Regions from separate parts of the Homo sapiens genome. Here region 2 is linked to region 1. Evidence: promoter capture Hi-C in human tissues and cell types (Jung and others, 2019). All regions are on one chromosome and are shown on one strand. The core of a region is centred on a gene start or on the middle of the fragment in contact, and the rest is flanking DNA. Distances in the headings are between cores, read along the strand shown.

The links. Contacts are between HindIII fragments. The study calls those that stand out against the background at their distance.
Region 2: a fragment that was not itself captured here is called in contact with the fragment with the promoter of KANK4 in region 1 in 1 of the 25 tissues and cell types used here (H1 embryonic stem cells).

The regions. Positions count from the first base shown.
Region 1 is chr1:62,317,614-62,320,740 of GRCh38, reverse strand. It overlaps KANK4 (KN motif and ankyrin repeat domains 4), which reads left to right and starts at 1,307. Exons shown (of 10, transcript NM_181712.5): 1 at 1,307-1,635. RefSeq lists enhancers at 1,267-1,989, 1,990-2,714. The HindIII fragment of the contact is 19,099 bases long and covers 1-3,127 here.
Region 2 is chr1:62,142,323-62,145,628 of GRCh38, reverse strand. The region is part of intron 41 of PATJ (PATJ crumbs cell polarity complex component); the gene reads right to left. Among named protein-coding and RNA genes, the nearest start is that of L1TD1, 51 kb to the left of the region's middle. The HindIII fragment of the contact is 6,313 bases long and covers 1-3,306 here.

The DNA of each region.
Region 1 (3,127 bases), core at 58-2,557:
CCCCTTCCCTTGGGCAAGAACCTGGAGCTGCTATCAAGCTCACCACAGTCCCCACCACTCCCTACTATGTCCCAACACTGGGACCAAGTCTCTGCTGCCATTTATTATTGCTCTGGGATATTGATTTGCTCCAGTGGAGCTCTAGTGGAAGTGAAATCGTTCAAATAACCATATTTCTATAAAAACGTAAAATGAAAGTCCTAGAAAGTACTCCCCCATCTGGGTCACAATGTCAAAAACGAAACCCCTTTGCCTAAGTGTTAGCCCTTGCCAATGGGCCCATGAAGGATGCCCATTGTGGGGGTCAGAGCTGGCATCCGGAGTCTTACGGGGTCCACGGCCCTCTACTTGCCTATCTCTGTTGTCTTCATCTGTAAAGGAGGAGTAGCAGCAGCTCCTTTTTCCTAGGGTTAGGGTGCACAACGCCCACCAGGCACTTAGTGAACTGTTCATTCAAGGTTAGCGGTTGAAACGCAAACATTTTGAACTGATAAAAAACTCTGGTGGGCCGGGCGCCGTGGCTCATGCATGTAATCCCAGCACTTTGGGAGGCCGAGGTGGGCGGATCACCTGACGTTCGAGACCCGCCTGGCCAACATGGTGAAACCCCGTCTCTACTAAAAATACAAAAGTTAGCTGGGCGTGGTGGTGTGCGCCTGTAGTCCCAGCTACTCGGGAGGCTGAGGCAGGAGAATCGCTTGAACCAGGGAGGCGGAAGTTCCAGTGAGTCGGGATCGCGCCACTGCTCTCCAGCTTGGCCATAGAGCGAGATTCCGTCTCAAACAGCAACAACAACAACAAACCTTTGGTGGGAGGTCGGAGTGTGAAATGAAAGACTTAGGGTTCCTGAGTGGGACTACAGCAAGGATTGGGAAGAAAAAAAGGAGATGGAAAAAGACGATTTAGGAGAGGTAAAAGTTCTGTTACTAGGACCCCAGCCCTCACTGGCCCACATCCGCTGGCGAGGACCTAACTTACTGCACCCAGCTTCCCAGTGGCCAGACCTAGGTTCCAGTCCTGGCTGGGGCAAGTCATTACCTTGTCTGGTGCTGTTTCTGCACCTATCAAATGAGGATGGAAATGTCTAGATGAACCGAGATAAACGCATACGAAAGCACTTTGGGAATCTGAAAAGCGCTATGAACAGGTTAGGAGTTTTTGGTCTCTTTTCAAAAAGTTTTTCTTCTAAGCTCATGTTTATCAAGGGCTTTTGAGTTTATCGAGGCTAAGACCCTCCCCTCGGTTTCGCAATTCTGCCCCTTCCTACACACCAAAGTCCGCGCCGCGTCAGGAGTCTTTTTTTTCTCCCCTAGCGAAGGCGGGGACTCGGGCGCTGTTGGCAGCTGGCGACGCGGGGCGAAGCCGCGGCTGGCGGCGCCTGGCCAGTCCCGCATCCGCCGCGGTGGGTGTGCCCGCAGGGGTGCGCCGGGGCCAGGGCCGAGACCGTCGGCCAGAGGGCGCCTGGAGGGTGTGCGCGCCGCGGACGACCAGGGTGCGCCAGCCCCGGGGTGCGCGCCTGGGACGCGGACAGTGCACCCGGAGGTTGCGTGCGCTCCGAAGCCGGGGTGTGCGCCTAGCTGCCCCGGCCCCGTGCACCGCGGGCCGCCTCGCGCAGGACTTCCGCAGCTCGCCAAGGTAAGGGACTCTGCGACCCCAGTCCCCCGCAGTGCGTCTGCTGGGGTGTTCAACACCCGCCCTGCGCGACCCGAGTGTTGGCCCCGGCGCTCGACCACTCTCCTCTTGCCTCTGCCACCCGCCTCGCCCAGTCCCCAGCGCCGCGTCCCCGGCTCCCTTTAAAGCAGTGGCTGCGGCAGCTTGGGCCGACCTGGCGCCCCCGCCTCCCAGCCTGGGGTCTGCGACAGAAAAGGAGCGGGGCTGCTCGGGCTGCCCAAAGGTGGGCGCCGCTCCCTTTCCAGCCCAGATTGGCTCTCCGCGCCCCAATTCTGGGGGTGGAGAACACTGGTGAGGAGGGGGAGGCCGTGCTGTCCTTGCGACTCAGGTGGTGCAGCCCCCGCCCAGCTTTTCCGAGCTAGGCGCTGCGGTCTGGGATGCAGCCTGCGGGACTGGGCGTTCTTTGCCGCGGGCTCCCACTGCTACCTGGAATCGAGCTCTTAGTCTCTCTCCTGTCGCAAAAGTCTCCCCGTAGTGCCAACCCTGGCACTCCTCGGCCCCTGGCTGAACTTTCCAGGGCTCCCTTTGGGCCGCGACCTTGGGCGGAGGCAATGGGGCAGCTCCGAGTGCTCTAGACGCCGCCGAGGGCGCTTTGCCCAGCCCGCATGCCTCCTGTGGGCTCCTTTCCCTTCTGCCTCTCCGGTAAGGTCAAATCTGTGACTGGGTACTTTGACCCCGCAGACTGGCCAGAAATGGGAGTTGGAAAGTCGAGCCCATGGCCGCTACGCTGGGTCTGAACCTAACTCTTGCCCTGGGCATCCTTCGGGGCTGCCAAACTCAAGTCTTAGTTCCTAAGCGCCCTGGAGTGCAAGCCTTTAGGGCAAAGAGGGAGTATTTTCCAGGAGAGGGAGGAGGACCCCCTGAGGCCTGGGCAAAGTCCTATCTACCAAATAGGGCCAGAGGAGGATCAGATGCAGCCAGTGACCCGGCTGAGGCATGGGGAGAAAGCATCTTGAGTTAAACACGATTCCCAAGGACCTGCTTGGGTAAATCAAGCCCAGGTTGCTTAGAGCCTCTCAAAATGTGACACAGGAAAGCTACACTGGGAATGGAGGCAGAGTCCGTTCTAATACTGCCTTTTCAAGCCCAGCCTTCCCACTTCACTGGACCATAATGTGACCTGGGGAAAGTGAGTTTTGGGGAATGGCTCGGGGATCAGACCAGACTGATTCAATCAACAAATGCTCTGTGCCAGGCACTGGTCAACGTAGTGAGGTACAGAAGTGAACAAAACTGGCACCTTCTGGCCTCATGGAGCTTGCATTCCAGTGGCCAACACCAACAGGAATTAAATCACTCACATAAATAGAGAATTCTCCAGTGCTGAGTTCTTTGAAAGGACTAGATACCCTGAAAACCTGATAGGTCCAGTAGTCGGTCAGTCTGCAGAATGACAGGAGAGAGTGGAATGAGCCTTCTAGGCAGAAGTAGCCGCGTGTGAGAGGGCCTAAGGTGA
Region 2 (3,306 bases), core at 462-2,961, 180 kb after region 1:
GAGTGCAGTGGTATGATCTCAGCTCACTGCAGCCTTGACCTCCTGGGCTCAAGAGATCCCCTCACCTCATCCTCCAAGTAGCTGGGACTACCGGCATGCACCACCATGCCCAGCTAACTTTTTATTTTTTGTAGCGACAGTGTCTCACTGTGTTGCTCAGGCTGGTCTTAAACTCCTGGGCTCAAGTAATCCTCCCACCTTGGCTCCAAAAGTAAGGAGGATTACAGGCGTGAGCCACCTTACCTGGCCTGTTTCCTTCTTACCACCATCACTATCTAATGAACTGCATACATCTTACCTTGTTTATCTTATTTATTGTCTATCACTTCATATTAGAATGTAAGGGCAGGAAGTTTGTCTGCTTTGTTCACTCCTGTATTCCCCATCACATAGAAGAGTGCCTAGCACATAGCAGGTGCTCAGTAAATAACTGGTGAATGAAAGAATGGATGAATATCTCTGACTCCCTGAGATTTGCCTCTTAGATAGTCCTAAACAAAGGTATAGTAGAATAGGCTGTGCACGGTGGCTCGCACCTGTAATCCTAGCACTTTTGGAAGCCGAGGTGGGCGGATCACTTGAGCTCAGGAGTTCAAGACCAGCCTGGGTAACATGGCAAAACTCTGTCTCTACTAAAAGTACAAAAGAAATTAGCCGGTGTGGTGGCACAGGCCTGGAGTCCCAGCTACTTGGGAGGCAGAGGTTGCAATAAGCAGAGATCGTATCACTGCACTCCAGAGTAAAACTGTCTCAAAAATAAAATAAGATAAAAATAAACCCACAAACAAAAACAAAGGTATAGTAGAATAATGGCACTTTGTATTCTGCTAATTATATATATATATATATATTTTTTTTTTTTGCAAATAACATTCTAGAGCATTTAGAAGAAATATAGTATAGCTCTGGGAGTCCACAACAGGACTCAGGATGGAGTTCCAGAGTTCAGTTTCAGCCTCTTATCAATGCCATATGTGAGTTTCAGCTTCCTCATCTATTAAATGGGAATCATAAAAGTCTGTTTTGCCTCCTTATCCTGGAGTTGTCTTCCACCTCAACTAGTTACCAGAGATACTTTCTCAAGAGCTCCTTGGTTACCTCTGCTTCTGGGTTATAATTCTCACTGCACAAATACAGAGGGAACTTTGTCTGCCAGCAATGCAAAGCTCGACTTGATTGCAATTTCAGAAAAGGCCAACAGAGGGCACAGCTGCCTAAAATGCTAAATTAAGCTTCATCTGTTAAGTAGAGCAGAAAAAGAAAGAAAATAGGCCTGCCCCAGAACACATTTTGGGTGAAGCATCCTATTCTGGGGAAAACACTGCTATGTCCAAGTTACAGAATCTTCTGGAAGTACCACTGTATGAAGAATGAGAACACATTTTGGGTGAAGCATCCTATTCTGGGGAAAACACTGCTATGTCCAAGTTATAGAATCTTCTGGAAATACCACTGCATGAAGAATGACGGAATGAATTGGGAAATATTTAGGACGAAAGATTAAAGGAGGAAACGATAGATTTCTCCCTGCCCCGAAAAGTCTCTCCTCTTAGCACCAGCTTTCTGCTCTCTTCCACAGCAAGTGTACTGGAAGGTTAACTTGTCCATGAACTCTTTTATCCTCCCTACTCTTGAAGTCCACCATCTTTATAAACCTACCCCACTCCAGCTTCCATCCCCATCTCCCACCCAAACTTCCATGACCCACACTCTTCTGGCTTTCCTTCTGCAGGGGCCTGTTTCTCCATCTCTTTGCTCTTCTTCCATTCATCTCTCATGGTGCAGTCCTGGGCCCATTATCCACTTGCACACTCAGGCTCAAGTGACAGCATGTACATTCCCACAGCTTTACATTCCAACGTGCTCACAATCCCAGCTTAGGCCAGCGTGGTGGCTCACGCCTGTAATCCCAGCACTTTGGGAGGCAGAGTGGGCTGGATCACCTGAGGTAAAGAGTTCAAGACCAGCCTGGCCAACATGGTGAAATCTGGTCTCTACTAAATATACAAAAATTAGCTGGCGTGGTGGTGGGCATCTGTAATCCCAGCTACTTGGGAGGCTGAGGCAGGAGAATCGCTTGAACCCAGGAGGCAGAGGTTGCAGTGAGCCGAGATCAAGCCATGGCACTTCAGCCTGGGTGACAGAGGGAGACGCTGTCTCAAAAAAAAAAAAAAAAAAAAAAAAAAAAAATTCCCAGCTTAGTCTGTGATATCCAATTGCCAACTTGACATCTGCATTTTAATATCTCAAAGATGTATCAAAATTAACACAATATTCAAACTTTTGATCTAACAATTCATCTCCTTCAATTCACTTTTCTTCTAGTTTTCCTCATTTTAGTAAATGGCACCTCCAGATGCCAAGTTAGAAATATACTGGGTGAAATAGTGAAAATACTGGTGTGCTGGCTGGTGCCTGTCTAACTGGAAAGGATGCTAGGATGCCAGCCATATAGCTGATCGCTCTCTGAATATCTGATCCCTCCACTCCTGCTTGCTGTACGTAATCCATCAAGTCCCCTGGATTCTACCTCCAAAATCCTTCTCAAAACTTTACTTTCCATCTACAGGTGACCATCCTAATTCAGTTCATCATCAAGTGCCTGTTAGCTGGAATCCCCATTCACCTTTGTCTCACCTCATTCCCACACGTTAGCCAGTTACCTTTTCAAATATAAAACGGGTATCCGCACTCCCCTGCTTAAAACCTTGTAGTGTTTTCCCTTTGGACTTGGAATAAAATTCAGACTTTAATTATGCATATAAAGTTCCCTCCATAGCCTACTCCTCTAATCCTGTCTCTCTCTCGACTCCACCCCACATTCCAGTTCCCTCTCCAGGCGGGGAATTCCCCCCATCCCCCAAACCAGCGTGCCTGGCATCAGCTTAAATGTCACTTCCCTTCTACAAGCCTGCTTTGACCATCCGTGTTTAATTTCTCCTGTTTTCCTCTCCATAGCACTCTCCAAGTATTTCTCACAAATTATGGTGATTAGCATCTATGTGCATGTTGACTGTATTTCCCACCCAATCACAGGATCCATGAGGATCAGGACTGCTTCTCCTCAGCACAATGCTAATGTGTCTAGCACATAACAATTGCTTAATAATTGTGGAGTGAATGAGCGAATCTAAAACTGTCATAAGGAATAGGGATTATGGGACTCAATTTTCTGTGGTTGCTTTTTGGGACTCAATTTTCTGAATTTCCACAGAGCAGGGTGAGACTGATGGAGGTTACAAGGAGATAGGTGTTGGGTTCTTAAAGGAGAAAAAAAAAAAGTAACAAGGCAGTTATGGAATGGAA